7 separate regions of the Homo sapiens genome follow, and regions 2, 3, 4, 5, 6 and 7 are each linked to region 1. Evidence: promoter capture Hi-C in 16 types of primary human blood cells and fetal thymus (Javierre and others, 2016). All regions are on one chromosome and are shown on one strand. The core of a region is centred on a gene start or on the middle of the fragment in contact, and the rest is flanking DNA. Distances in the headings are between cores, read along the strand shown.

What was found. Contacts are between HindIII fragments. The CHiCAGO score rates a contact against its expected background, and 5 or more counts as called.
Region 2: a fragment that was not itself captured here is called in contact with the fragment with the promoter of GTF2A1 in region 1 in 2 of 17 cell types (non-activated CD4 T cells and activated CD4 T cells); the score reaches 7.0 in non-activated CD4 T cells.
Region 3: a fragment that was not itself captured here is called in contact with the fragment with the promoter of GTF2A1 in region 1 in 1 of 17 cell types (fetal thymus); the score reaches 6.7 in fetal thymus.
Region 4: a fragment that was not itself captured here is called in contact with the fragment with the promoter of GTF2A1 in region 1 in 1 of 17 cell types (activated CD4 T cells); the score reaches 6.4 in activated CD4 T cells.
Region 5: a contact is called between a fragment that was not itself captured here and the fragment with the promoter of GTF2A1 in region 1, in 1 of 17 cell types (activated CD4 T cells). The highest score is 9.4, in activated CD4 T cells.
Region 6: the fragment with the promoter of TXNDC16 here is called in contact with the fragment with the promoter of GTF2A1 in region 1 in 2 of 17 cell types (total B cells and non-activated CD4 T cells); the score reaches 11.9 in total B cells.
Region 7: a fragment that was not itself captured here is called in contact with the fragment with the promoter of GTF2A1 in region 1 in 1 of 17 cell types (non-activated CD4 T cells); the score reaches 10.0 in non-activated CD4 T cells.

The regions. Positions count from the first base shown.
Region 1 is chr14:81,218,519-81,222,646 of GRCh38, forward strand. It overlaps GTF2A1 (general transcription factor IIA subunit 1), which reads right to left and starts at 2,441. Exons shown (of 9, transcript NM_015859.4): 1 at 1,971-2,441. The coding sequence starts at 2,000. GTF2A1-AS1 (GTF2A1 antisense RNA 1) reads left to right here and starts at 2,700. Exons shown (of 2, transcript NR_135252.1): 1 at 2,700-3,007; 2 at 3,121-4,128. RefSeq lists enhancers at 655-1,163, 1,036-1,105, 1,146-1,235 and silencers at 1,576-1,695, 2,226-2,275, 2,306-2,605. The HindIII fragment of the contact is 3,079 bases long and covers 356-3,434 here.
Region 2 is chr14:39,425,645-39,429,772 of GRCh38, forward strand. All of the region lies in intron 1 of FBXO33 (F-box protein 33), which reads right to left. Among named protein-coding and RNA genes, the nearest start is that of FBXO33, 4.7 kb to the right of the region's middle. The HindIII fragment of the contact is 2,172 bases long and covers 749-2,920 here.
Region 3 is chr14:44,949,874-44,954,001 of GRCh38, forward strand. All of the region lies in intron 1 of KLHL28 (kelch like family member 28), which reads right to left. Among named protein-coding and RNA genes, the nearest start is that of KLHL28, 10 kb to the right of the region's middle. The HindIII fragment of the contact is 2,216 bases long and covers 952-3,167 here.
Region 4 is chr14:45,074,198-45,078,325 of GRCh38, forward strand. TOGARAM1 (TOG array regulator of axonemal microtubules 1) reads left to right here. Exons shown (of 20, transcript NM_001308120.2): 20 at 1-234. Among named protein-coding and RNA genes, the nearest start is that of PRPF39-DT, 7.8 kb to the right of the region's middle. The HindIII fragment of the contact is 6,278 bases long and covers 1-4,128 here.
Region 5 is chr14:49,578,333-49,582,460 of GRCh38, forward strand. It overlaps a transcript of RPS29 not described here. Among named protein-coding and RNA genes, the nearest start is that of RPS29, 6.0 kb to the right of the region's middle. RefSeq lists an enhancer at 3,242-3,361. The HindIII fragment of the contact is 254 bases long and covers 1,903-2,156 here.
Region 6 is chr14:52,551,255-52,555,382 of GRCh38, forward strand. TXNDC16 (thioredoxin domain containing 16) reads right to left here and starts at 1,251. Exons shown (of 21, transcript NM_020784.3): 1 at 1,062-1,251. It overlaps GPR137C (G protein-coupled receptor 137C), which reads left to right and starts at 1,582. Exons shown (of 7, transcript NM_001099652.2): 1 at 1,582-2,337. The coding sequence starts at 1,894. RefSeq lists silencers at 1,772-1,841, 1,852-2,051. The HindIII fragment of the contact is 4,024 bases long and covers 1-2,828 here.
Region 7 is chr14:52,734,065-52,738,192 of GRCh38, forward strand. All of the region lies in intron 1 of STYX (serine/threonine/tyrosine interacting protein), which reads left to right. Among named protein-coding and RNA genes, the nearest start is that of STYX, 6.0 kb to the left of the region's middle. RefSeq lists an enhancer at 1-141. The HindIII fragment of the contact is 1,012 bases long and covers 1,162-2,173 here.

The DNA.
Region 1 (4,128 bases), core at 1,191-3,690:
ATAAGCAATTTCTAAATTATTGCTTAAAATTCTACACTAATACTTGAGGCAAAGTTTCTTTCACGAAATACAATTTAAGTTTGTCCTAATTTTTAAAAAACAGGTTATTTCAAACTTAAGAACTGGTAAATCAGAGGGCCACTAGTGGCATTATTAAGTCATTTGTTAGGTTTCCTTCAAAAATGTTAATTCCCTGATGCAATGCTGGAAAATAAATTGGAATAATTTTTATACCGGATACCCATGTTAATATCCAAGGCAATAAAGTTCTACTTAGATTTTTTTTTAATCTAGTTTGCAGTCTGTCTCTTCCCTCTACTCACGATTCTCCTACACATAAATGGTCCTATACTGAAGCTTTAGGTACTTATCTATTTCTCTGAAAAGCCTCGTGTCTTTTATATTTACTATAGGAAAACATAATGAAATATTAGGAGCTATATTTCTAACATTATTTCCTGAATACTTGAACAAAACACTACCAAAACCAAGTCCTCTGCAGCTAACATTTTCCATGTAGAAAGCAGTTTTTTAAATTCCCGAAAATAATGCACATAAGAAAAATGGCTAGACCATCTGATCTAAAACTCTTTGTTTTAAATAATTAATTTTGAAAATTGTAAACAAAAAGGGACAGCGATTCGGATATATTCCCCCTAGCAAACAAAGAAGGCAAATCCTAGCTGCTGCTGGGAACAAAACCAAAACTTGGGGCTCTGAAAGCAGCCCGCGACGGGTGCGAAATCACAGGGTGAAAAAAGGACCTAGAAATAAACTGAGCTCTGCACACGCCTGGCTCTTGCCTCGGGAGCACGCACCTCCCAGCCCCGCTCTCAGCAGCTCTCACTATTTAAAGCCGGATCTGGTGTTTAAATGGAGAGGCGGTGACGTAGGCCTGAAAAGCACCTTCCCATCCTGGCAGAGTCTATATTAGAGAGCGGCAATGGCTCTATATAAACAGGGCAGCCAAAGGGAGGAGGACCACAAGGCTCAGGGACTGAAAAGCAGGGTAAGCGGCCGCAGCCATGATGGTTAGACCCGAGTCGCCAACGGTACGGTGTCGGGCGGCCGCGGGCTGGTCTGCGGCATTTGGGACCGGGCAAAAAACGTGTTTTATTGTCATCATAAAAATAAGAGTTGGGTGGACTAGTGATCACACTGCGTTGGTGACTGAAAAGGTTATTTATGTGACTGCTTTTTGCAAACCTACGTGATCGCAAGTAACAAAAAGGGACCAACGGGAAGAAGTAGGTAAATTTCAAGGCGAAAGCGGGGACACTTGGACCACTGCAGGCTTTTTTTGTTTGTTTTGGTGCTTCTGCTAGGCGAAGATACGATGGGGGTCTTCCCCTTCGCCATTTTACCCATTCGGAAGGAACTGAGATAAGTGCTTTTCAACCAACCTTCGTCCTTTTTTTAAACATAAAATGGCCTCAGAGAAGGTTCCCAAAGCACAGCCGCCAAAAACAACCTAAGAAACCCCCAAAGTAACCATTAATCTTCCACTGCATTAAAGTGGATCACGATGGGTCTCGGGGGTTCGCCCGATTCCCCACACACAGTTTTTGTTCTGTAGCCACTCGGGGAGCCCTCGTCAAGCCAGCGCGGACGGGCCCCTCGGGGGGAAGCGGCGGCTCCCCTCCCGCCCTCCCTCCCGGCGGCCGGGTTCTGGGGCCGGGGCTGCGCGCCCGACCGGGCCCAACCGCCTCCGCGGCCCGGCCCGGCCCGCGGCGGCCCCAGGCCCCACCGGCGCCCCCGCCCTCCCCGCGCCGCGAGCCCTCGGCGCCCCCCCGCGCCCGCCGCCCGGCGCTCCGGCCCGATCCGCCCGAGGCGGGAAGCGGCGGCGGCGGCGGCCGCGCGGGCGGCTGAAGAGTCGAGGCCGGGAGTCGCCGCCGTCCCCGCCCCCGCCCGGTCCGGCCGTTGCTGCAGCCTGAACGAAGCCCCCGCCGGCCACCGAACCACGTCCTTACCACGGTGTTTGTATTTGCCGAGTTCGCCATTTCCACACACAACACAAACAAGAGGGGGCAACCCCAAGAAAACAAGATAAAAACAAAACCAAAAAAAAAAAAACTATAACACCCGGAGGGTGACCCAAATCACCGCAAGATTGGGGAAAAAATTTTAAACAAAATCAATCCTGAAGGAGTAGGGGAGAGCGGAGAGAGGAGGAGGAGGGGGGCACTCCTCCCGCAGCTGAAAACCTCGAGAATCGCCTTAAAAAAAAAAAAAAAGCCACGACCCTTCAGGGGTCCGGGGGGCGTTGCCCGCTCCCCACCCCGCGCCAAGGAGGGAAACCACCACCGGTCACCGCTCCCTGCGCCGCCGCTGCCGCCACCGGCTGCAGCTCCAGCCGTCCGGTCCGCCCGCTTCTCTCCTTTATATAGCGAGCCAACAAGCTGCGCGAGCCACCACCGCCGCCGCCGCCGCCGCCGAGAGACAGGGTGAAGGGGGAGGGAGGGGCGGAAAGGGCGGGGGCAGAGGTGGGCGGGGCTGAGCGCGAGACACCGCGAGAGCCGCGTGCGCAGGCGCGCCGGGGCGGAGGCCGCCGGCGAGCCGCGTTGTCACGCGCCGTGGCGGGTACTGGACTGGCGGAGCCCGGGGAGTGAAGTAGTGAAATCGGACCTACGCCTCTCCAACGCTCGCGTGATCACGTGGTTGGCACCCAGGCGGAAGTCTGCGGCAGTTCTTTGCGGTGAAGAACTTGCAAAGCGTTGCTGGAAAAGACGGGAGTTCTACTGACACTCCAGTCCAAAGCTAGGTGGGACCGCCTCCTGTCGCACGTTTCCGCCTGGTCCCGCGCTTTAGGAGCTAGGAAATGTGACAGAGGCGGTGCCTACTGCCTCGCTAGGAATGGCCGCGGAGGAGGACTGGTCACGTGGCGTGGCTTCCGGCCTCTGGCGCGTTCCTATTCGGGAAGGTTTTAAATGCGGAGTCATCTCTTGATTTGTCAGCGAGGCTTTGACTGTGAGCTTCGCGGCGTTCGCGCCTCACCGCCTCACCGAGGGTGGGTCTTTCGCGCGCAGAATTGTGTAGGATTTTCCAAAGGGAGTAAAAGCCGATCGGGGCCTACTTTTAACATTCCACAATTAGTAACGTCTGATTCGTTTGTTTCCACAGTGGGTACGCTGCGAAGACTAGGCTTATGTTACCCAGAGGTTAGTCCTCTACTAGGCCACGTACTTTAAATAATTTATCACGCTAGTGGAAATGCGGGGTGGAAGAAAACCCCACCAGCCTTTGGATTGTAACAGCACAGTAACTTTCCCTGGTTTTTAAAAATATTGCCAAAATACTGCGACTCCATGTGGCCAACGTATAGTGACTGATCACTTTGAAATGCATGCCCTTGACCCACCAACTCGCATGGCCTCTCGCTATAAGAGAGCAAGCCGGCTGTGTTCCATGTTCAATTCAATAAGTGCAATTCAATAAGCTTTTGACTTGTTCTGCCCAAGCAAATCCTGCCTTTATATCGACCTTGCAAGCAGAACAGAGAATGCTGTTTGGAAGGCAGAATTCATAGTACCTAGTTTTCTTGTCCCTGGGAATTTTGAGGGACTTGAAATGTCGCGTGGATGAGTGAGGGAGTTTGTCTTCCAGAGACAAAGCAAAACGAAACGTCAAAGTTCTGTGCTGGTGAAACCAGATTTGAAGAATATCAAAGGCGTCTTACCAAAGAGGAAAAAAAATGCATCTTGCCAAGACTTGAAGAAAGGGATTAGAGAAACCAGAGGCCTTGAATACTCAGAAAATGGGAGATTGTGAATGGGTGTAGAGGATATCTATGAACCTTGACATTTCTTTTCACGCCAAGTCCATTCCCCTGTTAACAGTTGCTTCCCAGTTTCCTGCACAGCTGCATGGTCTGGGACACTTAAAGAAAAAAATCACAGGAAATCAGTGTTCTTGGTATATTATATAAAGTTATGATTCTATCAACATTTGTAATTCATTTAATATTCAGGTGACAGCCCGAAAATTTACACTAAACAATACCATTCCTGTTAAGTTTTACTACATATTGAGAGGACTTCTTGTTACCTCCCTATTACATACTCCCAAACGCTTTGCACATGGAATCCCTCACCTTCCACCTAGTTTTCCCCCCTACTATTGATATTCTTG
Region 2 (4,128 bases), core at 585-3,084, about 42 Mb before region 1:
TTCCTTTCCTCAAAAATGCTAATGAACGGTCATAGCCAAATCAAACGAACACAAATAGTTTAGAGATGTGTTGTCCAGTAGTTTTCTTCTATGGATGGAAGTGTACTATTCTTTGTTGTACAATATAGCAGTCACTAGCCATATGTGACTATTGAGCGCTCGAAATGTGGCTAGTGGAACTAATGGGGTCTTTAATTTTATCTATTTAAAATTTAAATAGCTATCTGTAGCTACTGGCTGCCATATTTGACAGTACAACATTAGAACCCAGAAATAAATAACCGGCCTATAACAGTACTCCGTATTAGCTTTGGGACCCATTAACCAGAAGTTATTTCCCAGAACTTACAATTCCATCTAAGAATTACCATCCCCTAATCTAAGAATAACTACCATCCCCAAATCCCGAAGGTTACACACAAAAGGTGTATTTAAATAAAATGAACACTTGCGGTTGTTATTTAACATGCTATTTTTAAAAATTATTTATTTATTTATTTTTTATTTTATTTTTTCATATTTATTTTTTTAACATGCTATTAAAAGATAATTTTAACAATAATAAGGACAAGAAAATCGAGTGAGAAAGAAATGATGAAAAAATATTGTTTTTTCCTTTTGTCTTACTACCCACATCTAACTGGTGAGTACTCTGGGCTATACTTCCAAAATCCATCCACTTTTTTTCATCTCTCCTGCCTCCATCATAGTTCAAGCTACCATCATCTCTTGCTTAGAGTACAGTAAAAGCTTCCCAACTTGTCCCCCTACTTTCTCTCTTGGTCCCTAAGTCGCTCATAAAATGGCCAGGGTGATTGTCTTAAAATGCAAATGATATCACATTATTCTTGTCCTTAAAATTTTTTTCAGTGACTTCTTCTATCCTTGGAATATATTCCAAACTTCATTAAATAAGCCTACCTAACCCCAATTCTTCCTTCTTCTACTTCTCAGAACTCATCATGGCATCATTTTCATCCTCACTTGCCACAGCCCTGTCACACTTTCTTTTCCACTGCTCGAACAGACCAAAAATTTGTCTGGCTCAAGACCTTAGCGCTTACTGTTTCTTGTGTGTGGAATGCTATTTGCTCAGATCTTCAGATGGGCAACGCTTGTTATTCATGCTGCAGCTCAAATATCCTTCTCAAAAGAGGTTTCCCTGACACTTTACCTAATGTTGCCACCTAGTGACTATTACATCCTTCTGTTTTATTTTCAGATTTTATTTTCACAACCTGAAATAATCCTTCTTTCCTTTGTCTACTTGTTTCTGTCTTCCTTCCTCCTCTAGAATGACTCCGTGAGAACGGGAAGCATGTCTTCCCCGCCTGGCACATAGTACGCTCTCAATAATTGGAGGAAAAAACCCTAGATTTTCTATAACTATCATTTTAGCTCCTAAATAAATTGGTCAAGTTTGGTGAACTCTCCCAAGGCTGCCTCAGAACTAACAAATTAAAATGGAGATATTTAATCACTCCACTCAAAAGCTGCTTAACACCCTCATTTAACACAGTCAAAAAATTTTAACTTTTTTTTCCTTGAGTTTTACACCCTATTCCATCTATCAGTTGCCAATACAGCTGTGGAATAAAAAGTCCTAAAACCTCTCATAACAGCCTTCCAGGAGGTTAGTTTCTTTAGCTTTCCTTCTCAGTAACTTTGAGGCTATCCCTAAGGAGCCTCTTTTTCAGTTTTTAGGTAAGGAGCCTGCTGGGAATGCAGTGTCACAGGAAACTAATTCTTGAACAGGGCAGATTGGTCACAGGCCCAGTATATTTTAATATATTTATTCTGTAAATGGGCTTTTTAAAGTAAATAATAACAAAGTAAACTCTCAGAGATGAAACATTGTTAGACATATTTATTATACTACCACAGGAGAAATATTTCAAGAAAAATAAGGCTAAAAACTGTTGGAGATAATACCTTCAAGGCATTTTCTACCATCTTAGGTAGTAATCTGAAATGTCCAGGGAATTTTTAACCCATTTTAAAATGCATTTTTAGGCAGGGTGCAGGGGATCACACCTGTAATCCCAGCACCTTAGGAGGCAGAAATGGGAGAATCATATGAGGCCAGGTATTAGAGACCAGCCTGGGCAACACAGTGAGATCCTGTCTTTACACAAAATTAAAAAAATATATATATCAGCCAGGCATGGTGGTGCATGCCTGTAGTCCTAGCTACTAGGGAGGCTGGGGTGGGAGGATCATTTGAGCCCAGGAATTTGAGGCTGCAGTGAGCTATGATCATGATTGCTCCATCCTGAGTCACAGAGCAAGACTCTGTCTCAAAATATTTTTAAATGTCTTTATTATTGTTTCTTGGTAGGAAACAATACAAAGGTAAGATTCTCCTTCACTGTGCATGCCAAATCAACAAGACCCAAATCTAAGTATTATTAATAGATCCTTTTTAACTTACAGGATATATAAGCAGACACAGTCATGAAATGGTCAATCTACATACAAGCAGTTAGAGCTGTACCCAGAATCTTAAAAAGAAAATCAATCTTGTACAAAATTTCTCTGGTCTGTTACAATATGCATTCTTTTTTTTTAAATTTTTTTTTGAGACGGAGTCTGGCTCTGTCACCCAGGATGGAGTGCAGTAGCACGATCTCTATTCACTGCAACCTCTGCCTCCTGACTTCAAGCGATTCTACTGCCTCAGCCTCCTGAGTAGCTGGGATTACAGGCATGCACTGCCACACCCGGCTATGTATTTTAAAAGAGATGGGGTTTTGCCATATTGACCAGGCTGGTCTCGAACTCCTGACCTCAAGTGATCCACCCGTCTCGGCCTCCCAGAAAGTGCTGTCATTACAGGTGTGAGCCACCACCCCTGGCCAACGATATGAATTCTCAACAACAACAAAAAAGTACTGCCCCTAACAGCATTCCACCCAAGAAAAGCTTATGTAAAACATTTATACAGCCCATAGAAGCATAAACCAGATGAAGACAATGTGCCTATGGCTACTCTTCAGGTATTTTTAGTGACTGAGTCTATTACCTATTATCATAAATCTTACCATGAGCTCTCGTTTTTCCTAAGGAGTCTGAAATACAGCATTTTAATAGGCAGTACCCAACCTGACAACTGGATTAAATGCTAAAAATGCATTTATATCTATTTGTTGTTTGCACTTCTAGGTACAATTTCTTATAGAACGACTGCAGAGAAATTCAGCCTATGTGACCTAAAATACAGTTGAATGAGTACTTACTGCCCCTCTGTTCTTACTATTAATGAAGAAGACAGGTATCCTAGTGCCCTGTAGAGAAGGAATTTCTGAAACGTGAAGGACTGTGTGTTACCCTCAGAGAGGCACTTATGCACCTTCTTTATCCTTATTAGTTGTTCCTAAAACCTAAGATACAGGTATGGCAACTATAATCACTATGAGAATACATGTATATATATAACCCAGGAACCAAGCAAAACAAAATGCCAATTGTCCTCTCTGAAGATCAGCACCCTTGAAAAGTTCACACAATTCAAGTTTATACTTTTAATTATTTTCCTGAGGGACATGAAAATAACTGGAACAAAACAAAATAACAGTCTGAATTGTATGAACTGTATAAAGGAATTCAGCACAAAGCCTGGAAGCAGAATGCTTATGATCTGGTATGATTCACACCCCCTCTTTTCTACTTATAGAATGGCAGAAATCATAAAGCAAAACCATTGTAAATTTAACTTGGAAATGTAAAGAGCAATGTCAAATGTCCCAAGTCTATAGTTTAAGTGATTATAGAAAGAAATAATAGGCTTTACTAGTCACTGATAAACAATGTGGTTTAAAACATTTTCAGATTTGTTAAAATTTAAAGGAAACTAGTCTTATTTATGGATTTAATATTCATATTAACTTTTCCAATATCACAGAGTATCTCAAAACACTTTCAACAGTAAAGATGAGATTAACTTATTTCCAAAAACCCTTTGATGTATCATTAGTACAAACAACATGCAATTACACTACATTTTGAGACAAACAGAATGAATATGCTACCAAAGCAGCATGACATACAACACCATGCTAATAGTAGATGACAAGCAAACCTTAAAATTAGGGATGACGGGTGTGATGTTTTTGCATAGAAGTGATAGCT
Region 3 (4,128 bases), core at 810-3,309, about 36 Mb before region 1:
ATATACAGAACTACAGAGGAGAAATTTTTGCTTTGCTCTGCAAATGTCAGTCCATATCTGTACTACAGATTTTGGGTATCATCCTTTGACAGGGATCTAAACAGACTGTAACACCTGATGAACAGCAGAAATTCAAATCATGTCTTACAGGTAATGGAACAGAGGTACTGAGTCTGGGAAAAAAGGAGGTCTGAGTTATCACATGAAAAACCAAGGAATGAAGGTTACTCAACAACAACAGGAATAATAATTATAATATAGGGTTGTTTTGAGGATTAAACGAGTTTATACATAAAAAGGGCTCAGAATAGGGCCTATCACTTAGTAGGCTCTTAATAAATATGAGTTATTACTAGTAAATTCTTCGAGTTGTCCCTTGAGAAGTAGTCAACTTTCTATGTTGCACTACCTCTCACTATTAGATAAGAAACCCACTCTGTCTTCTCTGATACCCTGGGCAACACAAGTATCACAGAATTGTTGATTCTCAAATCAAGGTTATGAAGTATTGACTAGATTCATTTTTAATATAATTAGGAATCACATAGTGATAGATCCTATATTGTTAACCTAATTTTTGTGTACCCAATTCAAAACTGGTACACCATCAACATATGACACGCAAAAATGACACAACATAGGTCTGTAAATACACACATACATGTATGTACACACACAACACATAAATATACACACATGCATATATTTGTATGATATGCAGTATAGTTTTAAGAGACTGGGCTTTGGTACCAGGCTTCCCGGGTTACAATACAATGGTCTGTATTATGTGACCTTGGGAAATTCAGTCAAAAGTTTCAGTTTTCTCATTTGTAAAAAAATAGACAAAATTGTATAAAAAGCAGTTGTAAATATGCCTTTCTATGTGCTGGTACATAAGCACTCAGTAATTGGTAGACGTTATTTATTTTTACTGTTCATCAACCTTTAAAAAGCTTGGTTATTGCCAACTATATCCATGAAATGCCTTTCCATGCATACCAAAAAAGGAAGGAAGTTTGCTTACTGTCCAGGGAACAAATACCTACCAAAGCCAGGCCAAAGCCTCACTAATTCTATCAGTAAAGAGACATATGAGCCATTTTAAAATATAGATGGCTTATTAGATTTAGATAGTTTATTACTTACAGATTGAAAAGAAGATTAGCCAAAGAGTAAACTGCCTGGATCCTTGTCCCGCACATCAAAAATGGTAACACAAAAAAGGGGCTGGCCCCATGAAAACTATGGCTAAGCAGTTTTCTATTCTGTAGCTCTATTCTAAGGGTGTGGGATGGGGTCAAAAGTCTAACACCTAATCACAACCAGGGAAGTGAAGAGAAACTGTCTCATGACACACTTGTAGGGGAAATAGAGAGGTGAGTGGAAAATTGGGAGATGACCTCATAGCAGCTCCTTAGAGGCCTCTCACTCTCTCATATTCCAGGAGAATCACAAGGTGTGTCAAGCCACGGATAAGCTGCAGTCCTGAGGTCCAAGTCTTTGCCTACATGGATACATGCAAGGTGACCAGAGTACCATGACAAAGTTGTTCCCCTATACTTATGCCCCTATAATACTGCTTTATCTCACTTTCCTAGATCTATGTTGTTAAAACCTTTTAAATATTTTCTGACCATTCCAACTAGTAAGTAAGACATTCTATTCATTTGAACCAGCATGGTTCATTTTACTCCATAATAATAGAAATTATCAAAGTGTTTAAAATGGGCCAAAGAAAAGGCACTGGTAAAAGTAACTTCATAAAAGAAAGCCTAGCATATTTTTATAATTGTATTAGATGCAAATGATATACTTTCATTCCTTGTAAGAACTACTGAGAATAAAGTTTAATTTTAAAAATTATAGTTTGAATGCTTAATCAAAACAGTGTCAACTAGCAACTTCAACAAGGCAAGGTAAAAATAGGGAACTTAAAATGAATTACACTAGCAGTTTTCCATAACATAATTTTTTTGTTTTGTTTTTGTTTTTGTTTTTCAGACAGGTTCTCATTCCTGTTGCCCTGGCCAGGGTGTGGTGGCGAGATCTTAGCTTACTCACTGCAGCCTTGACCTCCTGGGCTCAGGTGATTCTCCCACTTCAGCCTCCCAAGTAGCTGGGGCTACAGGCACACATCACCACGCCCGACTAGTTTTTGTATTTTTTTTGTAGAGAAGGAGTTTCACCATGTTGCCTAGGCTAGTCTCGAACTCCTGGACTCAAACGATCACCCACCCTGGACTCCTAAAGTGTTGGGATTACAGGTGTGAGCCACTGAGCATGACCAAATTAAATCTTAAAATTTTTAATTTGGCCCCTTTCCTCTCTCAAAAAATATGACTTTAGAAAAATGCACAGAATTCTAACATTTTCAAATATAGAGTTTTTAAAACAGTGGTTTTCAAATCTGATCCTTGTACCAACAGCATTAGCAACATTTGGGAACCTGCTAGAAATGTAAATTCTTGAGCCCCATCACAGTTGTAAGCAATCAGAAACTACATAGGGCAGTGGGGTTGCAGGAAATGGGCAAACTGTGTTTTAAGTCCTCCAGGTTATTCTTAGGCAAAAGTTCCAGAACCAGTTAAAATATTTATAGCTCAAGTTTAGCAGCTTAAAAATTACTGAAAATTATTTTTAAGAAATATTTAAAATGAAAGTTTTTTAGAGACAGGATCTCACTATGTTGCCCAGGCTGGAGTGCAATGGCCACTCAAAGGCATGATCATGGCACAATGCAACCTCAAACTCCTAGGCTCAAGTGACCTACTTGCCTCAGCCTCATCAGTAGCTGGGACTACAGGTGTCCACCACTGCGTTTGGCTCAAAAACTATAATGCCTTCAAAATTATACATGGCAACTGTGACTATATTTGGTTCTCAGCTATCTACCCATAAATGGCTAAAAAAAGTAATTCAAAGAAGTAATACTTTCTAATCCTCAAAGCCCCACATTTGTCAAACAGTTTTACACTGGCAGTTTCATTTACCTCAGTAACCACTTTGCGTAAAAGGAAGGGTAAGTACCATAAAAAAAAAAAAAACAAACACAGGAAAGAACAGGGAGTAAAAGCATTAATTTTAGAGTCGGACAGATTTGGATTTAAGTCTACATTTTGCTACTTAATAGCTGGGCTATTTGATACTTGGGCAAATTACTTATTCTAAGCTTAAACATTCTCATTTGTAAAATTTGTTGTGGATTAACAGGATTAAATGAGACGTATGTAAGGAAAAATAGATCAATGGAGAACAGAAAATATAAAAGTAGATCATTTAGATATGCAGGTTTAGTATATGATAAAGGTGGAATCTCTGCGAGGGAAAAGAGAAACGTTTAAATAAATGTGTTGAGATAACGGAATAGCCATATGGAAACAGGTAAAACTAGATTTCTGCTACATACCTACACCAACAGGATAAATTACAAATGAATCAGAGGTATATATATGAAAAATGTAATTATATAAATATTAGAATAAAATACGGGTAAAAACTTATGTTGAAATTTAGTCCCCAATGCGGTAGTATTGAGAGGTAGGGCTTTTAAGAGGTAACTGGCAGAGTCCTTATGAACGGATTGATCCACTTATGGATTAATGAATTAACATGTTAGCAAATTAAAGGGTTATCACAGGAGTGGGACCAGTGGCTTTATAAGAAGAGGAAGAGAGAGCTGAGCTAGCACACTCACAGCCCCCTCACCATGTGAGGCCTTGTGCTGCCTTGGGACTCTGCAGAGTTCTTACCAGCAAGAAGGCTTCCACCAGATGCAGCCCCAAGAAAGCTCACACCAGGTGTGGCCCCCTTGACCTTGGACTTCTCAGCCTCCATAACTGTAAGAAATAAATTCCTTTTACTTATAAATTATCCAGTTTCAGATATTGTGTTATAAGTAATGGAAAACAAACTAAGACAACCTGAGATTAGGGAACAGTTTCCTAACTTTGAAACAAAATCCAGAAGACATCAGTGAAAAAATAGGTAAAACTGATTACATTTTAAAAACTTGGAATAAAGAAATCGTAAGTAAAAATATAAATGAGACTGAGAAAAATATTTGTAGCATATATAAAATATATATCAGTAATACATAAAATATTTCTAAAATTTTCTAGCCCTATAGGA
Region 4 (4,128 bases), core at 898-3,397, about 36 Mb before region 1:
GCACGTTTAAAAAACGTGTTGAATGTAACCCCCCTATTTTTGTGTGCAAACACTAAATTTTATTGCTTTATGTTTTGACCTTTATAAAGGTGTTATTCTGCTGCCCAGTTTTGTAATTCTCAAAAATAGTGCCAGGTCTTCTATAGCTTTTTTCAGAATTCATGGGCTTACAAGTACTGTATGCATCTTTAAAAAGAAAAGGAATGTTATAAAATAAAAGGATTTATTTCTTTAGATGTGTGAGAGGTGTCCTGTTTTTCCAACTTCCATACATGTTAAAATGGAAAAAAAAATATATATATATATACAGTAGTATCGACCTATCACTTTCACTTGATCTACTTATTATGATACTGACCTATCACTATTGACCTACAAATAGACGTGGGTTATCATTCTAACTTTGTAGGAAATTAGCTGTCTGACCTCGGACAAGTCACTTACCAGGTCTGGGCCTCAGTTTCCTCATGTCTAAAATGTAAGAGCTAGACTAGAAGATTTTAAAGGTCCTATCCTGTTCTAAAATTCTATAATTCTATGTTCATTCTTTTGTACTTCTGAGTCACTGACCAGTTTTCTAATGTATTTGGCTGTTTTTAAAATTGTGATTTAAAAAAATTTATCCTGGCCGGGCGTGGTGGCTCAAGCCTGTAATCCCAGCACTTTGGGAGGCTGAGGTGGGCAGATCACGAGGTCAGGAGTTTGAGACCAGCCTGGCCAATATGGTGAAACCCTGTCTCTACTAAAAACACAAAAATAGCCAGGTGTGGTGGCGGGCACCTGTAATCCCAGCTACTCGGGAGGCTGAGGCAGGAGAATTGCTTGAACCTGGGAGGCGAGGTCGTATTGAGCCAGAGATCGTACCATTGCACTCCAACCTGGGCGACAGAGTGAGACTCTGTCTCAAAAAAAAAAAAAGCCAGGCGTGGTGGCTCGCGCCTGTAATCCCAGCACTTTGGGAGGCCAAGGTGGGTGGATCATCTGAGTTCGGGAGTTCAAGACCAGCCTGACCAACATGGTGAAACCCCATCTCTACTAAAAATAGAAAAATTAGCCGGGCATGGTGGCGCATGCCTGTAATCCCGGCTACTCGGAGGCTGAGGCAGGAGAATCGCTTGAAACCGGGAGGCGGCGGTTGTGGTGAGCTGAGACTGCACCATTGTACTCCAGCCTGGGGTACAAGAGCAAAACTCCACCTCCAAAAAAAAAAAAGAAAAATTTATCCTTAGCTTCTGAGAAAAAAAAAAAAAGGGTAAGGGGGTTGCTTCTATTTCAAGCTAAGCTAAAATAAGAGTAAAGAATTGGCTACTTTTTCTATTTATATAAACTTTTATATAATTATATACTTTTAAAATACCTTATATTTTCTTCTAAGTGTATTTTATTACAGTCCTCTAGTTTGGTGTACTTTATGTATAGGGCCATAGAGTAAATATTTTCGGATTTGTAAGCCCGTATTTTATTTATGTATCTATTTTGAGATGGAGTCTTGCTCTTGACACCCAGGCTGGACTGCAATGGCGCAATCTCGGCTCACTTTAACCTCCCCCTCCCAGGTTCAGGCAATTCTCCTGCCTCAGCCTCCTGAGTAGCTGGGATTAAAGGCGCCCGTCACCATGCCCAGCTAATTTTTGTACTTTTAGTAGAGACGGGGTTTCGCCATGTTGTCCAGGCTGGTCTCAAACTCCTGACCTCAGGTGATCTGCCCGCCTCGGCCTCCCAAAGTGCTGGGATTACAGGCGTGAGCCACTGTGCCTGGCCTATTTTTTACACTTAAAAAATGTAAAAAAATATTCTTAGCTCAGGTCATAGAAAAATAGGCCTCTGTTAGACTCATTTGATCTCAGTTGTAAACTCTGAAATCATTACATTTTGCTTCAACCCTACTTGATATGCATCATTGATACAATAGTTACAGATTTTAAGTTTTATTAATTATGACTTCTGCCTTTGTATCACTGCACTTGTGCTAGCTAAATTTGCATCAATAGATTGTTAGATATATTGAAGGTAGATTTTACATTTTAAAGGATAAAGAAGACCATTACTTCATGTATAAGCCTAATTCCTTAGTTTGAATTTTGCACTGAAAAGTACAATATTCTGATCAGTCTAGGGAGAAAAAAATACAGTAAATATAATCAATAATGTGGCAACTTTATTTTACATAATATGTGAGCTACCTTTTATTATAAAGAAAATAGCCATTAATGTAACAAAAGAGTCTCAAGCCTAAAGAGTTTCTGTATTTTAGTAACTGCTTGATAATTGAGCACTCAGAAGTCTAGCACTCTTATCGAGAACCATTATCAACCCAGAGGTCAACAAAGAAACAGACTGATCACTGATTGAAATAACTAAAGAAAAGCTGAAGTCCCGAATAAACAAACGCATTTACTTGGAATAAAGGAATGTCGTTTACTAGCAATGGTAATGATAAAAGCCTAACGTCACCCACCAATGCAACAACAAAAAATGTTAAATGATGTATTTACCCAATGGAATGCATATCATATAGTCATTAAAAACGATGCCAAATACATGTTAAAGGAAAAATGTGACTACAAAATAAGTACAGTGTCTCCATTAATATATGTGCACTTAGAAAACAGAAGTAGTAGTATATATATACCAACATCTTAATGGTGGTAATCTGTGGGCAGTGAAGTTATTTTAATTTTTTTCAATGTACTCTTCTGTAATTTCTATTTTTTCAGAAATGAACAAGACATATTGCTTATAGTAAAATTTAAATTACAATAAGTGAAGAGAATCTGAAGAGAATCTGAAAAGTAATTTGGAGAGGAAAAAATATATAGCAAAGAAGAGAGCAGTGAACATCACAAAAGTGCTAAGGGAGGTACACAGTGATGTGACTCAAAGGGAGATGACCGAGGGAGGCAAGTATTATTCAGATAAAAAGCATAAGACTTTGATTCAGAAAGCATGAATTTGGAAACCCAGTTTTATAATTACCTGCTAAACCTTACATACATCCTGGGATTATTGTGAAGTCCAAAATTTAAAAAGGATTATGTATAAGAAAGCATTTGTAGGGCCGGGCACGGTGGCTCATGCCTGTAATCCCAACGCTTTGGGAGGCCAAGGCAGGCAGATCACCTGAGTTCAGGAGTTCGAAACCAGCCTGGGCAACATGGTGAAACTGCATCTCTACTAAAAATACAAAAATTAGCCAGGCATGGTGGCGGACACCTGTAATCCCAGCTACTTGGGAGACTGAGGCAGGAGAATTGCTTGAACCCAGGAGGTGGAGGTTGCAGTGAGCCAAGACCGCGCCATTGCACTGCAGCCTGGGTGACAAGCGAGACTCCGTCTCAAAAAAAAAAAAAGCATTTGTAAACCTCAAATGCTATATAAAGGTAACATTCCCAACAGAAGGAAGACCCAACTGGCATGAGCAAAAAGGAATTATTTTATTGTGTATATTTATGAGGTACAACTTAATGTTTTTATACATTGTGGATCATAAAGTTAATTAACATATCCATCACCTTACAGACCTAACTTTTTTTTTGTGGTGATCACATTAAAATCCACTCTCATAGCAATTTTCAAATACACATTATTATAAACTATAGTCATCTTGTTATACAGTAGGTTCTGAAAACCTTTATTTTATTTTTCCTCTTTATTTTATTTTTAAATTATTTTTTGAGACAGAGTCTCACTCTGTCACCCAGGCTGGAGTGCAGTGGTGCAATCTCGGCTCACTGCAACCTCTGCCTCTGGGTTCAAGCGATTCTCTTGCCTCAGCCTCCCAAGTAGCTGGGACTACAGGCAAGTGCCACCACACCTGGCTAACTTTTTGTATTTTTAGTAGAGATGGGGTTTCACCACGTTGGCCAGGCTGGTCTCGAACTCCTGACCTCAGGTGATCTGCCCAACTCAGCCTCCCGAATTGCTGAGATTAGAGGCGTGAGCTACCATGCCTGGGCTTCTTTTTTTTATTTTTAAAAATAGTCTTAGAGATGGGATCTTGCTATGTTGCTCAGGTTGGACTTGAACCCTTGGGCTCAAGGGATCCTCCCACCTCAGCCTACCAAAACTGCTGAGATTACAGGCATGATCCACCTTGCCCGGCCATAATTCTTCCTTTCTAAATGAAAC
Region 5 (4,128 bases), core at 780-3,279, about 32 Mb before region 1:
AATCTCTAAATGAGTCTTAATCAGATACTGCTACAAATCAAATCATAAATCACATCACCCAAAGTCAAATGCTGCTAACATAATGACATGTTTCCTTCTGATTTTTTTCCCTGTGTACTTGTTTTTTAACATAATAAAATTGTAGCACATATACAATTTTTCACTTTTTATAAAAAAAATTTCTTTCGGCAATTTTGTAGACTACCAATATTTACCAAAGCTTTCACTTTTTTTTTTTTTTTTTTTGAGACAGGGTCTCACTCTGTCTCCCAGGCTGGAATGCAGTGGCATGATCTCGATTCACTGCAACCTCGCTTTCCCCGGTTCAAGCGATTCTTGTGCCTCAGCCCCCCAAGTAGCTGGGATTACAGGCGCACACCACCATGCTCAACTAATTTTTGTATTTTTAACAGAGACAGGGTTTCACCATGTTGACCAGGCTGGTCTCAAACTCCTGGCCTTGTGATCCACCTGCCTCAGCCTCCTAAAGTGCTGGGATTACAGGCATGAGCCACCCCGCCCAGCCAGCTTTCACTTTTTGTTGAACATTTACAGTTTAGTGGTAAGAGCAGTTTTCAAGACATACTACCTGGTTGAATCTCTCTTACTAGCTATACAATCTTGGGAAAGTTACTTATTCATTGTGCCTCAGTCACCTCATTTGTAAAATGGGGACGGTACCTCAGGGAATTGTTGTATTAAAGGAGATTCTACAGCCAAAATGTTTATGTCCCCCATAAAATCCACATGATGAAACCCTAGCCTGTGGGTTGTAGGAGGTGGGGCATTTTGGAAAGAGATTAGGTCATGAGAGGTCAACCCTCATGGGAGTAGTTCCCTTATAAAATAAGCCCAAGAAAGCTCATTTGCCCTATCCACCATGTAAGGACACAATGAGAAGGCACCATTTATGAGTCAGGAAACAGCTCTCACCAGACATGAAATCTACCAGCACCTTGATCTCAGACTTCCTAGCCTCCAGAACTGTGAGAAATAAATGTCTGTTATTTAAGCCACTCAGTCTACTGGATTTTGTTACAGTGGCCCAAAGACACTAAGACAGAATCCAAACCTAAGAATATATCCTCTGCCAGAGTGGTGGCTCACACATGTAGTCCTAGCATTTTGGGAGACCAAGGCAAGAGGATCACTTGAGGCCAGGAGTATAAGACCAACCTGGGCAACACTGCAAGACCCTGTCTCTACAATAAATTTTGAAAAACAAAGAATAGATCCTCTATGTTCCAATGGTTGTTTGGGCCTCTCCTATAGCACCTACCATCTTTTGCCATCAACACTTATTGAGCTTTTACTAAGTAATTTAGTTCAATTCCCCAACAAATGAGGACCTATTAATCTACAAGGCATCTTGCTATGTGCTTGGTATGCATGTAAATATGAAAGGAAACACTTACTCCTGCCCTCAAGTAACTAAGTGATCTTTGGGAATAAGAGATGCATAGTCCTCTAACCATACAATAAGTGTGTTGTGAATATTAAGAGCATAGGCACTGATTTCAGACAGACCCAGTTCCAGTCGTTTTGTCTCTTTCTTTGGGAGACCTTGGGGAAATTACTTAATCTCTAAGCCTCAGTTTCCTTGGCTATGTAATGATGATAATACCTGCTGAAAAGTACTCTAAGACTGGAAAAAGGCAATGTGCATAAAGCACTTAGACCACCTATCCACAGCAGCCTTCCCACTCACTACCACCATGTATACACAGGGATAGGACTGTCTAGGGAGTGTTTCCCTTCCATTACCTAAGGCACTGCACGTCTCTTACAGAATTTATACCAGGCCATCACACTGGACCAGAGCCCAGCCCATCCAAGAGACTCTCATGACCAAATCAAACACATATCACACCCTTTTTGACCTAACTCACCACTACATATGTAAGCTTCTCTCATCATCTCCCAAACTTTTTTACATTTGCTTAGCTGACACAGCTTCTCATCCACTCTATCTGCAATACCAGCTCATCCCATTACCAATAAATCTTTTCTACATCCTCAACCTCATCTCCCAATATTCTTCCCACCTCCTTACCCAGACTGAAACCTGGCTCTTTCCTAGACACTTCCCCAACACCAACTTTATCATCACATACACCTGGGGTTCAGGGTTAGGAGCACAGGTGGATTTACTATGAAGCTTATGAAACTTAAACTCCAGTATCCCTAACTTCTACAAGCTCCTTCTAAGGCAAGTATACTAGGAATGTGTTCAATCACATGTTTTCAAAAAATTGGCGGCCAGGAGCGATGGCTCATGCCTGTAATCCTAGCACTTTGGGAGGCTGAGGTGGGTGGATCACCTGAGGTCAGGAGTTCAAAAGCAGCCTGGCCAACATGGTGAAACCCTGCCTCTACTAAAAATACAAAAAATCAGCCAGGCGTGGTGGCAGACCTGTACAGGCACACCTGTAATCCCAGCTACCTGGCAGGCTGAGGCAGGAGAATCGCCTGAACCCGGGAGGCAGAGGTTGCAGTGAGCTGAAATCATGCCACTGCACTCCAGCCTGGGTGACATAGCAAGACTCCGTCTCAAAAGAAAAAAAAAAAAAATGCTGGGTGCGGTGGCTCACGCCTGTAATCCCAGCACTTTGGGAGGCCAAGGTAGGCAGATCACCTGAGGTCTGGAGTTCGAGAACAGCCATTGGCCGGCATGGAGAAACCCCATCTCTACTAAAAATACAAAATGAGCCGGGCATGGTGGCGCATGCCTGTAATCCCAGCTACTCAGGAGGCTGAGGCAGGAGAATTGCTTGAACCTGGGAGGCGGAGGTTGCAGTGAGCCAAGATCAAGCCACTGCAGCACTCCAGCCTGGGCAACATGAGCAAAACTCTATCTCAAAAAAAAAAGAAAAAAAAATTGGCAAAGATAATTTAGCTGCAACCAGTTAAGATGCTCTTTCCATTCCAGCTTCCCTTCTGTCACACTTCCCCTCCTCTCAGATAAAACTGGGGTTACCAATTCTGTCTTAATCAAAGGCACACAATACAGTTGATCACTCACGTCACTGCTTAAAACAGATTCTACTTGGATGTCTAAGACAAGTCTCAAAGTCAACATGTCCAAATTGAACTTTCTATTCTTCCCAAACCTGGAAAGGCCTATCTCAACAGCAATTCTATCCTTCCAGTTGCTCAGGCCAAAATCCTTGGAGTCATTCTTAGACTGGGTCTCATTCTGTTGCCCAGAGTGCAGTGGCACAAGCCTCCCAAGTAGCTAGGCGTGCACAACCACACCCGGCTAATTTTCTCTTTTAAATTTTTGCTATTCTCCCGCCTAGGCCTCCCCAAGTGCTGGGAATACAGGAGTGAGCCACTACGCCCAGCCCCTAAGAGTCATTATCTACTCCTATCTCCTGTATCGGTTCCTTCAACAAACCTTGTCTCCCACAGTAAGGCTGGCTGTAGTGGTGCTCACCTGTAATCCCAACACTTTGAGAGACCAAGGCGGGCTGATCACTTGAACCCAGGAGTTCAAGACCAGCCTGGACAACAAACCCCGTCTCTACTAAAAACACAAAATATTATCCTGGCATGGTGGTGTACACCATGTCCCAGCTACTCAGAAGGCTGAAGTGGAAGGATAGCTTGAGCCCAAGAGGTTGAGGCTGCAGTGCGCCACTGCACTCCAGCTTGGGTGATAGAGCAAGACCCTGCCCCCCAAAAAAAAAAAAAAAAAAAAAACTTAGTGACTATCTCAACCACTCCCATCTATCCTAATGCAAGCAAATATCACTTGCCTAGACTATTGCAATAGCTTTATTTCTACCTCTGCCTCAGTGAAATGAACTTAAGTTCATTGCTGGGCACAGTAGTGCACACCTGTTGTCCCAGGTACTTGGGAGGCTGCAGGAGAATCAGTTGATCCCAAGAGTTCAGACTAACCTGGACAGCATAGTAATACCCCACCTCTACAAAAGTAAGTTTCCAAATGGATTCTCATCTCACAATATCTAACTATAACCTACAGGGCTACTACAGACCCTGGCCAGCTTTCTCACTCTTCAGCCACAACTTTGCTATTTCTCTGATTCCATCCAGGAATTCTCTTCCCCACAGAATCTATGCTGTAACCTCTATTAAGTTCATAAGCCAAATTTAAGTATGGCT
Region 6 (4,128 bases), core at 1-2,500, about 29 Mb before region 1:
GGGCAAAGCATATGACAAAGGCCAGCCTGGACAATATAGTGAAACCTCGTCTCTACCAAAAAAAAAAAAAAAATCAGCCGGGCATGGTGGCTCCAGTGCCTGTAGTCCCAGCTACTTGGGAGGCTGAGGTGGGAGGACTGCTTGTGCCCAGGAGGTGGAGGTTTGTAGTGAACTGTCACTACAGCCTGGGCGACAGAGCGAGACCCTGCATGAAAAAAAGGAAAAAAAAAAAAAAAAGCATAGGACAAAGGATGGTGAGGTAAGAAAAGCTGGGTCTTTGTTGCTCCAATAAACGTAGCAATGTCTTTCACAAGGATACTGAATTCGTAATGTGCTGTGTATTCTAAAGAAAACAAATTATTTCCTTTTAATTTTGCACTACTTGCTAATCTTATTTCCAAATAGGAAAAAAAAAAGTCAACAACTATGTGCCGGCCCAATATACGTTAGTCGATCTGATTATTCCTCGGTTCTTCACAGCAGTAACACAGCATGTATTTTCTCTCTCAGGCCCAGGAATAGCGCCACCATCTACCATACACAGGTCCAAGGCTTCGATACATGTGGAATTTAAACAGTACAGAATATTCTACTTCCTCTCCAGGCAATCATCATACTTACAAGTCTGTTTCTGCCTTTTTCCCAAAACTTAAGCCCAGAGCATCTTCCCAAATTCTACGTTTGAAAGAACCAGCTTCCCCCTGCTCACAGATCGCTTCAACATCCATCTGATACTACTACTACTCTTCCTTAAGAGACATTTCCCTTGGCCTTGGGAGGAAAGGGTCTTTCACTTAAGAGCTCCGATTCTCCCCGTCGCCCCTTTCCATCCCCTCGACCCACAAAGGGCTCCGGTGTTTCCCGCCGTTCATGCAGCGAAAAGAGAAAGCAAAATGCCCTCAGGAGGCTCCAGGTGAGGCCCTTCGGTGCCCCAGAGACGGGTGTCTTAAGTCAGACTCCGGAGCTGTGCAGTGCAGCCCTGGCTACAGAAAGCTGCTTCGTCTGAATCCCCGGGTCTGCAGGCAGAGCCCACAGCCTGAAGGGCCAGCGCTGTCACCTACCTGCCCGGGACCTGCGGGCGGGGACCTGGGCCGTTCCCGAGGCCGCGCGGCCAACAGTTCCCGCCGCCACGCGACGGAGGAGGAGGCAGAAGACGGGGCCGTGCCAGACTAGCCGGGTAGCCTGGAACCACTTCGCCAACCTGCAAAGGCGTAGCACTTCTCCCTCCCAGCCTGCAGCCGCCACCGACTCGGCGGAGTCGGCCTCCTGGGAAAAAACAACCTGCGAAGCTCCTCCTTCTCCTCGTGCTCCCTACGCGAGGCACTCTCTAACCAATGGGAAACGTGGTGGGCGGAGCGAGAGTGACAGACGATTACAGAGTCCTCCCGCCGGCGCGAACGGGCGGTGCAGTAGCAGGGCCAATCAGCAGCGTGGGTGGGAAGTACAGGGGCGGGAGAAAGTAGGGAAATTACGCGCCCAATCAGATCTCGGGGCCCTCGAGCGACGGGTCCTGCGGCCCGTGGCCTTCCGAGCGCGGCGCTCAGGGGGCGTGCCTGCCTGGGCCAATCGGCGCGAGCCCACAGTGCGGAGCGAGCGCCTCAAATGCTCGGGTTTCTCAGCTGATTGTCTCCAGCCGAGAGTTGTTTTTTGCAGCTACGGAGCCGAGCCGCAGCAGGAGGAGCCGAGACCCCCGGGGGGTGGGGGGAAAGAGGAGGCGGGGTCCGGGGGAGCCGCGGCTGCTTTGCGCTGGACTCCGGGTCCCGTCACGGCGCTTCCTGGGGTTAGAGGCTGGGGTGGGTGGGGGGTAAGGGGGCAGTCCTTCTCCCCTTCGACGGCGGCTCCGAGTCCAGCCCCTTCCTTCCCGCGCTCGCTCGCCCGGCCCCCAGCCCCCTCATGAGGGTGTCCGTGCCGGGTCCGGCGGCCGCTGCCGCCCCCGCAGCCGGCCGCGAGCCCTCCACGCCCGGCGGGGGCAGCGGAGGCGGAGGCGCCGTCGCTGCAGCCTCAGGCGCCGCGGTGCCGGGCTCCGTGCAGTTGGCGCTGAGCGTCCTGCACGCCCTGCTCTACGCCGCGCTGTTCGCCTTTGCCTACCTGCAGCTGTGGCGGCTGCTCCTGTACCGCGAGCGGCGGCTGAGTTACCAGAGCCTCTGCCTCTTCCTCTGTCTCCTGTGGGCAGCGCTCAGGACCACCCTCTTCTCCGCCGCCTTCTCGCTCAGCGGCTCCCTGCCCTTGCTCCGGCCGCCCGCTCACCTGCACTTCTTCCCCCACTGGCTGCTCTACTGCTTCCCCTCCTGTCTCCAGTTCTCCACGCTCTGTCTCCTCAACCTCTACCTGGCGGAGGTAAGGCGGGAGGGCCGGCATGCGGGGCCCGGGCGGGTGCGCGGGGCCGCCGGGATCAACTCCCGCTGAGGACCAGCGGGGGCGGGGGGTGGGCAGCGAGAGGCGGACTGGAAACCAGCCTGGGGAAACTGAGGCACACCTGGAGTGTGAGCCAGTGTTTTCGCCTTAAACTTAAGTGGCTGATTGGCTTGATTACTGAGGGGTTCGGGCTAGGGGGTGAGTGAGTGAGTGTGTGTGTCTGACAACTTAAAACAGCAACGGAACGAACCCTTTGTTCGGTGTTCTGGCCCTCCGAGGTAAGGCGTTGGTGGCACCAACAAAGTGGCATCGCAAGAAGTAGCAGCCCCGGTGGCTCTGCCGAAGCCGGACTGTGTTGAGGGAGGTTGGATGCTGAGGTAGCAGCAGCTCTGCTGAAGCTGGACTGCTGCCAGCCATTACGTCACCAGGCAGAGCTGTTCCTCTGCTATTGTTGCTGCGTTTCTTTTATTAGAAGCTTATATTCCCTCCTGCATCTCCTTTCCTGTGGCTCGATAAGCCTCACATAAATTTCGTTCGATAGTTCCCCAGCAGGGTTGATGATCAATAACCAATGCTGAGGATCAGGATAAGGACCTCCATAAAGCCCTTAATGTTTGCCCCAGTTGCTTCGTGCTTTAGCGGTTTATCCTACCTCCTATTAGCATAGTCTTTTTTGGAGCTAATTAAGAGAAAAAAATACTAGCTTAACCTGTGCCTATTGCAGAAACAAAACCACCAAACTGTTTTTGCAATAACTTGCTTAATATCTGGAACCTAATCACACCCCCTTTCTCTTTTATGGGGAATTGCTGGTTGGATTGCATTGTTCTGCAGCGCTTAGGTATTTGACCCATTTCAAACAGGTTTGGGAGTGTAAGGTTGTCAATCATGTGTGTCAGCTTGTGGTATTTAAGCCATAATATTTTAAGACTTTCCCCCAAAAAAGTCCTCCTTCCCACCAAAAGAAAAGCTTGAGGAGGGGAGGAAGCAAGGTGACATCATATGCTTAATACAGACTAATATAGAATAATATTGGCCTATGCAGCTAATCCTCTCAAAGGCTTTTTTGGAGGTGATGGAATTAATGTAGTTCCAAGCAAAAGTAAAAAAAAAAAAAATGACGTATATTAAGTGTTTATATTTCCTGCATAAACCAACTCTTTTCTCCTTTAATAGGAAGTAGAATGCATAATTTTATAATCAGTCATAATGTCAGCTATTTAGCACACTAAAAACAATAGTTGAAAACAACAAAACTAATTTAACTTTTATTATTTTCCTTCTCCATCCTTTGAAAGTCCAAACAATACAATGACAAAAACGCAAACCAGTAAGCGGAAATAAGAAGCATAGGTTATCACAAATCAAATGATGCCATAGTCGTGTCACTTATTTGAGGGTGTTCTAATCTAGTTGTCGTTTAAGCTGTTATAACACTTCTACCCTTTATACTTAAACTGATACATTGTAATCTTCCTGCCACCATTTCAGATAGTGCGTTAGTGACTTCTCAACGCTGAAGCTTTTACTCCAGGTTCAGATGTTTACCTGAAAGTGACTAGCGATTTTTATGCCAGGGGCATCAGATGACTTGTTTTTTCCCTATATATTTTGATTTACAAAATAATATGAATGATTCACTGTAAAATAGTTGGTAGGCATTTCATAAAGTGGGTAAACACTCTTTTTACTTCTTGAGGTATAACATATACAATAAAGTCCACAATCTTAAATGCACACCTAGATGAAATTTTATATCTGTATACACCCATG
Region 7 (4,128 bases), core at 418-2,917, about 28 Mb before region 1:
CAGCGACCATTCAGTGGCTAGAGTGAAGTTACAAAGTTGCAAACGAAGATTCCACCCGCAGTCAGTCTGATTTGTTGAGGACAGCCAATTTCCCGTCTACTGTGCAGAAAAGGTAGGTGGTTTGCAACGGGAGTAGCCTCTGGTCCTTTTGTTACTTAGGCGTGGAAAGTTAGGGTTTTCCCTTCAAGTTAGTTCTGGGAAGTCGGGGTGAAACAGCCTTAGATTCCCTGCCTCCAGACCCTATTCACCTGCCTCACTAGCACCTCCAGTGTTTTCATCCAGAAGCTCAACAAATCTTATTCAACGGTTTTTATAGAACTTCATCTCCATCCCCTCCCATAGAGGTGTGTGTGTGTGTGAGGCTGAGAGTTCAACCCTCTTGTCACATGGTCTTTCTGGTGACTGGCCCCACCCTAAATCACTTCATTAGCATAATCAGGTTTGATCAAAAATAGTGGCTCATAAATAACCAAAGACACTCCTATTAGAAAATTCCAAGAGTTTTAGGAGGACTGTGACAGGAACTGGAGAGAAAGACCATGTATTTCATATTATATCACAGGGACAGAGGTAATGGTTAAAGCTAGTGGATAATGATGCAAGTATTGTCTGCTGAAAGCCAATTCGTTCCGTATTTCTTAATATTGCATGTTTGGTATCTTTTGGTTGCAAGCAACAAAAACGAATTTAAGAAAAAGAAGAAGTAATTAAATCCGGCCGGGCGTGGTGGCTCACGCCTGTAATCCCAGCACTTTGGGAGGCCGAGGCGGACGGATCACGAGGTCAGGAGATCAAGACCATCCTGGCTAACACGGTAAAACCCCGTCTCTACTTAAAAAAAAATTAGCCAGGTATGGTGGCGGGCGCCTGTAGTCCCAGCTACTTGGGAGGCTGAGGCAGGAGAATGGCATGAACCCGGGAGGCGGAGCTTGCAGTGAGCCGAGATCTAGCCACTGCACTCCAGCCTGGGAGACAGAGCGAGACTCCATCTCAAAAAAAAAAAAAGTAATTAAATCCAGAAGGGTAGTGGTGCAGCTAGTTTCAAGGATTTGACCAAACCCAGGTATTATAAAGCATCAGAACTGCCTTTGTCTCTCATGAGTTCTTATCTCTACTTTCTCTCGGAGTCTCTGCTTTCTCTCTGGCTTCTCCAAGATGTGAAGCTTGGCCATCTGGGGTCACACCTTTATGAGCTTGGTTATTGAGGAATAAAACTGAACACTTCCAGCTTCTGTGTTTGAAATCTAGAGGAATTGCCCAATTTAATTCATGTTCCCACACTTTGGATCAGTCACTGTAGCCAGGAAAGGGCAGATACAATGAGGGGCCCCATCTAGGTCATATCCCTAATTCCTTGGCTAGAGGAGTGAAGTTTATTGTTGGTAGCCCTCCCACCAAAACCATAGGAACATTTCCACAGGTAGAGGGTACTTTCTGGGCTGATAAAACTATACATAGGGGCCACATAAATAAACTATTAAATAGGAGCATATAGTTATTCATAATAAACTGACTAATAAGCACTGTTAATTTTCTAATCTCCAGTGAGATAATGTAAAGTGTCAAATGGTCTTAAGTAGTTAGAGTGATCAGCCAGCATTGTTTCTTTGACACAGGGAGCACTACCTGGAAATCCAAATTACAGACCAAATTTAATAAAAACTGAATTCAAGCAGAGAGTTCAGGGAATGCTTTTAATGTTAATGTGATCAAGCTATGATAGGTTGATGATTCTGTCACCTCTACAAGAATATTACTTTCACGTTTCTTGAAATATTGGTATTCTTTGTATAGGACAGTGCTAACAAAAATTTAGATCAGTCAGTTTGTGAAAAGATTGTTACTTTTTTTGTTTAAAACTTTTTCATGAATTTCCATTGTTTTGAAGATGAAATTTAAACCCTTGACATTATTTCCAGGGTCCTGTATGGTCTGACATCTGCATACCTCTCTAACCTCATTATGAGCTACTCTTCTTGCTCCTTTCTCTGTAAGCCCTAGCCATATTTATCTTCTCTCAGTTCCTGGAATGCTTTAATTTCCACCCCCCGCCTTCAGAGCCTTTATGTTTGCTATTTTCCCCTGCCTTGGCTGCCAGCACCTTCCTTACCCTCACCTAATTAACTGCTTACCCTTGGGTTAGATCCCACTTTAGGCAACATTTCTTCAGAGAAGCTTTTCCTGTTTGCCAGTTTCTCTAACTCCTTTCCTCATCCTCTAGACTGGTTCAATTCCCCAGCTACTATGGCACTTGGTACTTTAATACTTACCTTTGTAACATTTAACAATTTTTGGTCATTGTCTATTTTCCATTTAGACTGAACCTTTCATAAGAGAGCTTAGATATTAGGAAGAAGGAGTAGCTGATAGTACCAATTTTTAAGCAAATTGGTTGTAGCTGGGGCTATTGGTTTTATAATTTAAAAGTTAATGTTTTATCTTCTCTTCTGACAGAAAGTGAAATATTTATTTCCATTGCAGTTTAGCAACTTTCCATGTTTCCCTTTCCATTTTTCTTGTGAATCCCGTAGTACAGGATCAAAGATAGGAATTATTTAACATACATGGCTGAGGATTCCTTTTCTAGCTCCTTTATTTAGAATGGTGCTTTTTAACCCTTACTCTAGAGTAAGGAATTTTTTAAAAATACTGATGCGTGGACCCTACCAGCACCTATTGTAGTTTAATTTATCTGAATGAAGCTAGATGATTCTAATGTTCAGTCAGGTTTAAAAATTGCTGGTTTAGAAAATATCTTACTTGAGTACTCTTCTGCCCCTCCAGTCCCTGCCCACCTTCTCTTTTTATTTGAGTGAAACATTTTCTTTTCTCCTTTGATTTAAGCAAAGCTCAAGCTTGGTGTGGGAATGAAAGGAAAAGGACTTTGGAGGGATTTACCTATTTTTTCTAGGAGAGAAAGTGCAATACTAACTTTTCTGTTTTGTGGAATGTCCCAGTGCAAGTCTAGTATTCTGATGTTTTTTTTCTTCCCCAAACTGTTGCCCCCCACCTCCAGCCTATGTACAATTTGTGTTTTATTTTAGTATTGTGTATATAGGATTCAGCACTATCCTCAAATGTATGAACATATCCCCTGTGGATAAGGGGGGACTACTGTATTTGTAAAAGTTCATATTTCATATTTCAATGCATATAAGAATTATTTTATCTAATGGTTACAGTCTATATCCTTCATTGATGTGTTTATTTGAGGGTCTTTGAACATTTTTGTAACTTTTCTCTATCCAAATGCAGTTTTATAGATCATTTTTATGGAAAGGAAGGAGATAATTCGGAAGGATGTTTTAACATGTGGTACTTTCTACCTCATGTTGATCGAAAGATTTTCACTTGTGAATTAATTTGTCTCAGAATCATGGTGTTTCACAATAGAGGGTTATTTTGGTTTATCTGGCTTGCCTTGGTTTGGTTAATGTGGTTGAACTGCTTGGCTACTCATAAAGTTTGGGAAATTGATTTCTACTAATTAATTACAATAGTAACTTAAAATAGATCATTGCTGGTGATATGGAGATGCCTCCATTAATACCACGGTTTCTAAAATGATAGATTTCAGGAGTAGTGTGAGCAGGCTGAGATTAAGAATTAAGTGTGATAGTGGCAAGACTTGGTTATTAGACGTGTGTTCAGACGGATGTGTGGTAGAAGAAGACTATGAGCATTCAGACTTAAAATCTTGGTTAGTAAGATCCATAGACAGGCAGGGTTTTTTTGTTTGTTTGTTTGTTTTAACAGGTTGGAGTGCAGTGGCAGGATCTCAACTCACTGCAAGCTCCGCCTCCCGGGTTCACGCCATTCTCCTGCCTCAGCCTCCCGAGTAGCTGGGACTACAGGCGCCCGCCACCATGCCCGGCTAATTTTTTGTATTTTTGGTAGAGACGGGGTGTCAACCATGTTAGCCAGGATGGTCTCGATCTCCTGACCCTGTGATCCACCCTCCTTGGCCTCCCAAAGTGCTGGGATTACAGGCGTGAGCCACTGTGCCCGGCCAACAGGCAGGTTTAAGGTTTGTTCTGTAGGTGGTAATCTGGGTTAGGGCAGCAAAGAAGGTGGATTCTGAGATCAGCATCTGATGATAACACCAGGAATAGTTCCAAATGAACTTTT